Regions from separate parts of the Homo sapiens genome. Here regions 2 and 3 are each linked to region 1. The links are contacts of gene promoters, found by promoter capture Hi-C in human tissues and cell types (Jung and others, 2019). All regions are on one chromosome and are shown on one strand. The core of a region is centred on a gene start or on the middle of the fragment in contact, and the rest is flanking DNA. Distances in the headings are between cores, read along the strand shown.

The links. The method cuts DNA at HindIII sites, captures the fragments that hold promoters and counts their contacts. A contact is called where the count stands out against the background at its distance.
Region 2: the fragment with the promoter of AURKB here is called in contact with the fragment with the promoter of SPDYE4 in region 1 in 1 of the 25 tissues and cell types used here (neural progenitor cells).
Region 3: a fragment that was not itself captured here is called in contact with the fragment with the promoter of SPDYE4 in region 1 in 1 of the 25 tissues and cell types used here (lymphoblastoid cells).

Annotation. Positions count from the first base shown.
Region 1 is chr17:8,757,215-8,760,653 of GRCh38, forward strand. It overlaps SPDYE4 (speedy/RINGO cell cycle regulator family member E4), which reads right to left and starts at 1,332. Exons shown (of 7, transcript NM_001394956.1): 1 at 1,060-1,332; 2 at 48-278. The coding sequence starts at 1,168. The HindIII fragment of the contact is 5,925 bases long and covers 1-3,439 here.
Region 2 is chr17:8,209,321-8,212,769 of GRCh38, forward strand. It overlaps AURKB (aurora kinase B), which reads right to left and starts at 1,255. Exons shown (of 9, transcript NM_004217.4): 1 at 1,210-1,255; 2 at 857-929. The coding sequence starts at 904. RefSeq lists enhancers at 487-1,146, 708-757. The HindIII fragment of the contact is 18,109 bases long and covers 1-3,449 here.
Region 3 is chr17:9,539,470-9,542,839 of GRCh38, forward strand. The region is part of intron 4 of STX8 (syntaxin 8); the gene reads right to left. Among named protein-coding and RNA genes, the nearest start is that of STX8, 35 kb to the right of the region's middle. The HindIII fragment of the contact is 5,742 bases long and covers 1-3,370 here.

The DNA.
Region 1 (3,439 bases), core at 82-2,581:
TTTTTAAAAGAACAGGGTTGGAGGTGCTTTTTGGGGTATCCTCCTACCAAGGAGCCTGTTGAAGGCCTCGTGGTGCTCAGGGAGCACGGAGGATGCTCGCTTTCGCTTCAGCTTCATCTTGAGCCCACACAGCGTCTCCACCACCCAGGTGTCCTCGGGCTCAGGGGCGCGCTCCAACTCCAGCTCCTCCTCCAGCTCCTCCTCGGATTCGTCTGACCATTCGCTCTTCCTTTTCAGGCCAAGGGATTGAGGCTGGGGGCTGGGATCTATCCAAGGGGCTGAGTGAAGAAACCAGGCCATGGTGTCATGTTTCTGCCATTGATCACCTTAGACGCCCCGACCCAGGAACCTCAAACTACTCTTCCATCCTCCCAAGCCTCGCAGACTGTCAGCTTCTCCAAGCCATGTTTCCACCTTTCTCCTTTGCTGATCCCCATCTGCCTCTCCCTCACCTCCCCATTCTTCCGGCTCTCTGTCCTCAAAACATTTCCTCATCACAGATAAGAACTTTCAATTGGAGAAAAATGGAAACCTTCCCTTGAGCTCTGTCTGCTCTCTCTCTCTCTCTCTCTTTTTTTTTTTTTTGAGATGGAGTCTCCCTCTTGTTGCCCAGACCGGAGTGCAGTGGCACAATCTTGGTTCACTGCAACCTCCGCCTCCTGGGTTCAAATGATTCTCCTGCCTCAGCCTCTTGAGTAGCTGGGACTACAGGCACGCACCACCATGCCCAACTCACTTTTGTATTTTTGGTAGAGACAGGGTTTCATCGTGTTAACCAGGATGGTCTCGATCTTCTGACCTCGTGATCCGTCCGCCTCGGCCTTCCTCTCTCATCTTTTGAGCACATCTCCTGACCCCCTTCATTGCTCCCCAGACTTTCTTTACACGTGGCCATGCTTGGCCCCATTCCCTGCACCCTCCTTCCCCGATCCCTGGCTTCCTGAGTCCGTCGTTTCTTTCCCACACACCCTACTCAGGTGCTTCAGATTCCCAGTAACTGGCCCCCTTCCCTCTCCTCAGTCAATCATCTCCCATCGCTTCTCCCTCCAGTCACCTCACCTGATGGTCCTGGCACTTCATCATCCACCACCACCTCGGGGGACCGTACCGTTGTGCTAGGCTGGGGGCTCTCCTCCTCAAACGGGGGGCGCGCTTGACCACTGGCCATAATCTCTCCCAAACACTTTGTTTCTGTCCACAAAACCTAGTCCCTGTTCTGTCCAAAGCCTTCTTCCAGACTCCGTTAGGACCCAGAAGAGTGCGTTTCTCTTCTAGAGGCTCGGGAGAAGTTAGGAGTGAAGAGTAGTTCTGAGAAGTTGCTGTTGTCCACCTGAACTCCCAAGCAACCAGAGTCCGGTCCTTCCAATCAGGAAAGTCGGAATCTCTGATGTCATCGGTCATTCCAAACTGGCAACTACTTTGAAGAAAAACACATGTAACTGCCAGACTGATCTCTTTTCTTGGAGATCCGGGGTGAACGGTATCTCCTGGCAATGTCCCAACCTCTGAGCATTGTCCAAAAGCATCCTCAGGGTCTCCACATTCCTCTTTTCCCTGTCCCAGCAGAGGCTGTGTCCTCTCCACTCTAAACTTGAGGGGGTGTTGGGCTCTCCTCCCCGCTTCTCCTTCCCATTTCAGAGTCTAGTCTGGTGAGAGAGGGAGGAAGGTGGAAGGAAATTTAGGGTAAGCAGAATGATGAGTCCTTCCAAGAGTGAGATTAACATATACAGGAGATCCTGGGTAAATTGACTTGTTGAATGGAGACGTTACGTCGAAGTACTCAATGTGGCAAAGCTTTTTTGCTGAATGTTTACTGATATTCACTATCCTGGATCCTATAGTAGGGGAACATGCATCCTTTGCTCTCAGGCATCTTTGAGTCCAAGAGACATTTTGAGGAATGAAAATCACAGGAGACTGTCCATGGTTTCGTACAGATTTTCAATGGTGTCCACAAGTTCAGGGCATCCATGGATCACCTAAAGCCTGCCCTCCAGTTCAGCTAAGGAACTCTGGTCTATATATCAACTATTACAACATATCTATTTCACTTGACCCCAAAATTTGCCTACTATTTATGTATTTTATGAATAAAATATCCTGTGTATAAAAAGACTAAGGGGAAAATCTCAGCCAGGCCCAGGGGCTCCTGCTCATAATCTCCCTCCTTTGGGAGGCCAAGGCAGGGCGTCACTTGAGGTTAGGAGTTCAAGATTAGTCTGGGCAACATAGCAAAACGTCATCTCTACAAAATATAAACAAAGTAATCAGGAATCGTGGCACACACCTGTGGTCCCAGTACTTGGGAGGCTGAGGCAGGAGGATTGCTTCAGCCCAAGTGTTTGAGGCTGCAGTGAGCTATGATTGCACCACTGCACACCAGCCTGGAGGACAGAGTGAGACTCAGTCTCAAAAATATTTTTTTCGGAAAAAATAAAAATGTAAGAGCTGGATACTATCTCAGATACCATCCAAAGAACCTGTGAGTTCTGGCACAGCTTCCTAATGGGCTCCTAGGAGTCTCTCGCTGATGGGAAAGGCACAACTGAATGAGGAGGCAGATCCCGTCGCTGTGGAAGTCCAATTGTTAGGAAACTCTGCTTACATTGAGTGGACCTTCGCATTCACGATGCTTTCAACCATCAGAACTGGTTGGATCCTTTTACAACAAAACAGAAAATCATCTTTCTCTCCTATTTAATAGGCTTTCAAACATTAGAAGATCAATATTCTGTTGCCATTAAAATTTCTCTTCTGTACCACGTAAAGTTCTGATTAATCACTCTTCAAGCCAGTTTTACATATTCCTCTGTCTTCTAGGCACCTTCTGTAGACAGGCTACAATAAGGCAGCCATCTTAAATTATGTCAATACATTGTCCAAAAATGAGCTAAACAGTTCAGGTTTCATCTGATATGTTCAGGGAAAAGCAAAACTATCACTTCTCCCCTTCTCTTTTCCTTCAGTGATGCAGGTTAATACAACAATGGCTGTAGCTATGCACCAAAGATATCATTAGAGTGAAACAGAAGGGCTTTATTGGCTGGCATGGTGGCTCCTGCCTGTCATCCCTACACTTTGGGAGGCCAAGGCTGGAGAATCACTTGAACCCAGGAGTTGGAGATGAGTCTGAGTAACGTTGTGAGACTCCGTCTCTCCAAAAAAATTTAAAATTAGCCTGGTGTGGTGGCACACACCTGTAGTCCCAGCTAGTTCGGAGGCTGAGTTTGGAGGAGAAGAAGTGCTTTGCAAATACCAGCCTTTCAGCCTAAGGATCTCAACTAGGAACATTAAGATACAGATGCCAGGACCCAGCCCCACAGATTCTAATTCCAAAGGACTGAGGTGGGGGCTGATTTAACTTCATCATTGGAGTCCATTCAGATTTGGAACTCTCTGGGTGGGGCAGCGCAATAGAGATCCCAAAGAAAGCAAAATC
Region 2 (3,449 bases), core at 5-2,504, 550 kb before region 1:
TCTCAAAATAATAGGTACATTTTCTTTTAGGAGTGACTAAGGTAAAAGTGACAATGGTTTCTCATTCAGACTCCATTCCTGACAGCCTCACTCAGTGCTCCATGAGGGAGGGAGCTGATGTACAAGGGAACAGACAGACTCTCCAGGAAGCAAGAGCTCCAAAAACAGGGAGCAAAGCCTGTGCAGGGCCCCTTCCTTCTTCTGCAGCCAAGAGAAGAAAGCCCCTAGGCCCCAAATAGTGATATTGGTACCAATCTACAAATAAGCAAGTTGAATAAAATACAGTCCAGAAATAGACCCACATATATGTGGGAATTTATATATATAATAAAGGTGGCATTTCAAATCAGAGAGGAGGCCCTTCAATGAAATCTGTCTGGACCATTGGGAAATAAGTCAATTTAGATCCATTTAGATTCTTACCTCAATTTAGTCATTAATTCCAAATTGTAATTTAGACTTGCCCTGGGCCTTTTAAACTGTAACTTTATATCCTTTTAGAGTCTATTTCTATTTGCTGTCTAGTTTTTTTTTTTTCAGGATATGGATTGGGAATCATGGCCTGAAGGCCAGGCCCTGCCTGCTCAGTCCCAGATATCATTTGTATGTGACGAGCCCTGCAGAGGTCCTCACCAGCTGGGAGTCACTGGCTGGTCAGATTCACGTTGGCAGCACCTGACAGGATGTGGCTACAAATGACCAGAGCGGGTTCTGTCGTCAAACTTGGGACCCGTACTTTGGAGCATAACGGGGAAGAAAGTGCTTAAAGGATTGCTCATTGCAGGATCTCAAGTTTCCCAGCAGGAACTCGCCATGCGGGGTCATGGGGGCGCAGGGACGGAGGGAAGGGCCTTACCGTCTGTCGGCCGTAGGGCCAGGGGTAGGAGTTCTCCTTCTGGGCCATCCTTAGAGAGAAAGGGGGAGGAGAGCTGGGCGGAGAAGGGAAACAGCCGTGAGAAGCAGAGAAAAAGAGAGAGAGAGGGAGGGGTTGGACCGATCGAGCCGGAAGCGCTAGCCCGAGCTGGTAAAAGGGAGCAGGTCAGCACACTAGCCCCAATCTGGGCGCTGGTCTCACCGCCCCCGCCCTGCTATCGTCCCTACCTCCTTCCAGCCCTGCGGCGTGCGCGCAGGCCAGCCCAACGGACCCTCTGATCTACCTGATCATCTGCCCACTCCCGGCGCAAGGCCTGCGACAGGAGGCCAGCTCACCTGGGGTCCAAGGCACTGCTACTCTCCCGGCCGCCCGCAAACAACTGAATCTGCCACGCCGCGCCCTGGCCAAGGACTTTTCAAATCTCCCGCCCCGGCCCCATTGGGCAAGCTCGTCGCCCATGCCTAGTTCCCATTGGCTCGATGTCCTGTGACGTAAGTCATGGGAACCCAATGGAAGAGGCGGAATGAGAAGGGCTCACGCTTGGCTTCCAGTTTAGGAAAGTTTCCCCAAATTCCCCCAGTGAATTATCTTGCTTTTTCTTTTCTTTTTTTTTTTCCTTTTTTGAGACAGGTCTCTCTCTGTCGCTCAGGCTGGAGTATAATGGTGCTATCTGGGCTTGCTGCAACCTCTGCCTCCCGGGTTCAAGCGATTCTCGTGCCTCAGCCACCCGAGTAGCTGGGATTACAAGCGCCCGCCACCACGCCTGGCTAATTTTTGTATTTTTATTAGAGACGGGTTTTCGCTGTGTTGGCCAATCTGGTCTCGAACTCCTGTCCTCAGGTGATCCACCCGCCTCGGCTTCCCAAAATGCTGGGATTACAGGCGTGAGCCACCGTGCCCGGCCTTCTTCTTTTTATAAAAAAAATTAAATCTTTAATGTAACTGGAGTTTATCCTTATGCATGTATGAGCTGGGGTCTAACTTCTCTGCCCGATGGAGCGCCAGTTATGTCAACACCATTTGTTAAACAAACTGCCCCAACAGAATTTAAATGCTGCCCTTGATATATAATGTTAGCATATTTACTTGTGTCTATTTCTAGACTTTGTATTCCGTTGTTTGCTCATTTGCCTGTGTGTTTATTCTTGTGTCATTACTATGTCGTTCTTAAAAGTTCTGACATTCCTGGGAGGAGTTTTTCCACCAATAGACCTTTCGTTGCAAGATCTCTGTTAGCTGCCGTGTTGTTTGGGCCCACTTTCATTTTTCCTCCTTCCTGCCACACTTCCTTCTTTTCTGCTCTTCCTAACCCTCAGATTTCATTACTGGGTTAAATAAATACATTTTTGGGCCTTCTATGAAATAACCAGTGGATATTTATTAAGTATGTACTGTCCAGCACTCTTCTCCTTTCTTCTAACACTCTATTTTTCCTTTAGGGGACCACCTGTCTCTCCAGTCTATGCAGTCGGTTTCTGTAGTAGTTTCTGTTGCTGACAACCCCAAATCCCTAGGTTGATGAAGACCTATTTAAATCTCACTTTTTTTTTTTTTTTTGAGATGAAGATTCGCTGTGTTGCCCAGGCTGGAGTGCAATGGCACAATCTCAGCTCACCACAACCTCCTCCTCCAGGGTGCAACTGATTCTCCTGTCTCAGCCTCCCGAGTACCTAGGATTATAGGTGCATGTGACCACGCCCGGCTAATTTTTGTATTTTTAGTAGAGACGGGGTTTCATCACATTGCTCAGGCTGGCCTCAGGTGATCCGCCCGCCTTGGTCTCCCAAAGTGCTTGGATTACAGGCGTGAGCCACTGCGCCCAGCTTTATTCCCACTTCTGAAAGCACTTAGAGTTTTGAGGATTTGAGAAGGAAACTGACTTCATTGCAGGTCCAGAAATGAGCCCCAATTAACTTATACTAATCAATACCTTTTATTCCAGATTATGGTTATTGGATCAGGCATAAGCCTGTGATTTAAGTGGGCCAGCTAGTGGGAATCAGTTTCTTGCTCAGAATGCTGGGCAGCTCAAGGAAACACTTAACGTTTACTGGTTTATCATAAAGTGTATTACAAATGATATAGATGAAAAGATGTATAGGGCAAGGTATGGAGGAAGAGATTTCTGGAAGTGAGCAGGGAAGCATGCAGCCCTCATTGCTGCTTCTAGTGCTACTGAAGGAAGCAGCTTGACATTGAAGCCTAACATTGCAGAAGGCAGAAGAGAGGCCTGGAAAGAACTTCAGGACTTGATGACATTGTTGAGCCTCTACATGCCTACGTTAGCACTTTTCTTACATGAACAATAGAGAAGATTATTATTCAGCTAATATCCTTTCTGAATGCATTCTAAATGCTATTTGCTGTTTAAGCATATTGTGTAGAAAAAACAAACCATGGCTAGGCTTGGCGGCTCACGCCTGTAATCCCAGCACTTTGGGAGGCTAAGGCGGCTGTATCACTTGAGCCCAGGAGTTTAAGATCAGCCTGGGCAACCTGTGAAACCCCGTCTCTACAAATAAAAAAAAAAAAAATTAGCCAGTATGGTAGTGTGTGCCTCTAGTCCAAGCTACTT
Region 3 (3,370 bases), core at 298-2,797, 780 kb after region 1:
ATTAACCCCAGTTCTCTAACAGTAAATGTGTTGTGGTCATGGTCTAGCATTCCTGACAAAATGTGCCATAGTGAGCACGTCTATAACATTTCAAAGTTCTGACAAGGCTTTCTGGCCACCATGCTTCTGGAAGTCATGAATTAAGGGAAAGACACCTACCCTCCACTCACAAAGTGACAAAGCAACCCAACTGACCCCCCCCACCCCAAAACCAAGAACTACAGAAGCAAAGAAAAATGCTGGAGGAATCCAGAGATTAGAGAAGCAAACGAAAATGTTGGAGGAGCCTAGAACTAGGAATTAACTGTAGAGAGGACTAAGGAAATCTCTGCAAGTCATTGGAGATACTACAGAAACCAACTGGCAGAGAAAGGAATGAGTTTCTCCAAAGATAGATAGAGCTGAGCGTTCCCTAAGAGTTGGTATTAGAAATGACTAGGCAACTGACAATCAGGAGGGAAGGGGATACAATCGAATTGTAATTGAACATGTCATATAATGAACAAGTCATGTTTACAACTGAATTAAAGTCCTTGGAAGGCTAGGTCCAACAAGAGAACTATTAGGTATGAGAAGTTGGGGAAAGAAGGGGAGGTCTCAAGGATGGGGATTAGGAGTAAAGAAGGCAAAAATAATACTCTTACATAGGCAGGTGAAGGAAATCAAACAACAGCAACTCTGACCTCAAATCTAAGAAAATCCACTTCCAGCAGTCCACTTCAGCTTTAGCATTCACTCCTCCATACACTTCTTGCTGGTCCTCGATAGGTCCACATGGTGCCATCTTCCCTGACTAGTTGGAGCAACGCTAGCTAGCTGGGTATTTGTTCTCATGGCCCTTGAGCAGATTTCCCGGGGACTTTTCTACATAGCTTATGAGAGTGCTTTTGTCTAGTATGAATTTTCTTATTGATCAGACTTCTCTGGAATGTCTACAGGACTTGCACTTTTTGGACAAGCATATGCGGACATGTTCCCGTTACGGTGTTGGGTCTAAAGCAATCCTAGCCCAACAAGGAATCACCAATGGAAGTGAATGAGAAATTCACCTTCCAGGCCACCGACATCATTCTCCTTCCTCTCTGTATCTGCAATGATTTTCTTTCTTCATGGTGCTCAATGTCCAGTCGCCACATTGGTTTCCCGCTCTTGGCCAGACTCCATGTCATCCAGAACGGACCATCATTGTGTGTTATGTCCACGTCTACCTTCTCCAAATCACTCCACAGGAGTCATTTCTCCTTGACAGTACTTACATTATTTTTAAACAGAATTCTTCTAGAACCTTATTCTGAACCATCCTAGACTTCTGGTCCTGAACAGAAAAGATACACCAATCTCTATGTTGCCCTTGGTTTCATCTTGAGAGCATGTAAATAAGTCTGGCCAGTAACTTTATTTCAACCCTCAGGGATTCAGTTACCTTTGCTTGACAGTGTCTCCCCAGTATGATCTCTGTCCCCATGCCACTCAGCCATTCACCAACACACCAACAAGCAACAGCTTTAGTCCACCACATGGATCAGCCTTATGGGCATGAAGAGCAGAAGGCAGTCCCAGTGGCAGGACCCAAGAGGTCCTCAGAAGGCCTCCATCCAAAAAAACCACCTGACACTAACCTGCCAAATTCCCTAAACATTCCCATCAACTAATTCACTGTGGTTTCAATCCTAGGGTTTAAGGAGGTTTCGGTGAAAATACCTCCAGAAGACAAGACATTGGCAGCCGTTGATTCCACTGCTAGAATTAACATGAGATTGTTCACTAATAAGACAATAGGCAGCAAGCTGGGCACGGAGGGAAGCAGACACGGAACAAATGAGATGTGGAAGAGGAGAATGGAGGGCAGAGGACCAGGTGCAGCGTATGATGGGGTCAGACAGACCACGTCCTTCTAGAGCAATCAGGGGGCAGGGCACGAGGGACAGAAGATCTCCGAAGCAATGAGGCAGCCTGAGTTCCCTCCTAGCCGGATGGAGACACAATGCTCCAGTAATAACATCTTGTATTTATAAAGGTCTTAGAGTTTACAAAGCCTGTCTCATAGCAATCACTTCATCTGGTCCTAACAACAACGAAAAATGGGCAGCACATGTATCCCCAGTCTAAGGTCAATGACTTCAAAGCCCACATGACTGACAGACTAGAAAGCTACAGAACTGGGTCCTTCTAACACCTCATCCAGCTCTTTTTATGGTGCAATGGTTACAAGTTCAGAGCTAAAATCCAAGTTCTATGACTGATTAGCTTTAGAATCTTGAACCCTCTGAGCCTGTTTCTCTTCTGCAAAATGGGGCATTATAAAGAGCTCCTGAGCAAATGCACATAAAGAGCTTAGCACAGTGCCTACCATATAAAAAACAAATAGCAGACATAAGCTATAGGTCTCATGACTAGTACACTGTGACATAGAGCAGTCGTTCTAACCCTGCCACCTACTAAAACCACCCGGTAGTCTCCCCAGCCTTACTGCTGCCCAGGCCTCACCCAAGACTATGAATCAGACTCTGCAAGTACATGGTCTAAACATTTGTATTTTTTTTTTTTTTTCCATTCTCTCTTGGGTGATTCTGATGCAAAGTGCCACGATTAAGAATAAATGACACAGGCCAGGTGTAGTGGCTCATGGCTGTAATCCCAGCGTTTTGGGAGGCTGAGGCAGGCAGATCACCTGAGGTCAGGAGTTCAAGACCAGCCTGGCCAACATGGTAAAACCTCATCTCTACCAAACATACAAAATTAGCCAGGCGTGGTAGTGCGTGCCTGTGATCCCAGCTACTCGGGAGGCTGAGGCAGGAGAATCACTTGAACTCGGGAGGCGGAGGTTGCAGCGAGCTGAAATTGTGCCACTGCACTCAAGCCTGGGTGACACAGCAAAACTCCGTCTCAAAAACAAAACAAACAAAAACAACAACAAAAAAACAAGGGCCGGGAGCTGTGGCTCACGCCTGTAATCCCAGCACTTTGGGAGGCCGAGGCAGGCAGATCACGAGGTCAGGAAATCGAGACCATCCTAGCTAACATGGTGAAACCCTGTCTCTACTAAAAATACAAAAAATTAGCCGGGCATGGTGGCGGGCGCCTGTAGTCCCAGCTACTCGGGAGGCTGAGGCAGGAGAGTGGTGTGAACCTGGGAGGCGGAGCTTGCAGTGAGCCAAGATTGCGCCACTGCACTCCAGCCTGGGCGACAGAGCAAGACTCCATCTCAAAAAATAAATAAATAAATAAATAAATAAATAAATAAGGAATAAATGATACAAAGCAGTTATTTCTTAAATTGTAATGTGCATTCAAATCACCTGATGATCTTGTTAGAATGCAAGTTTTAATTCTGTAGTTTGGGGTTCGGGTTGGAAAATTCTGAGTTTGT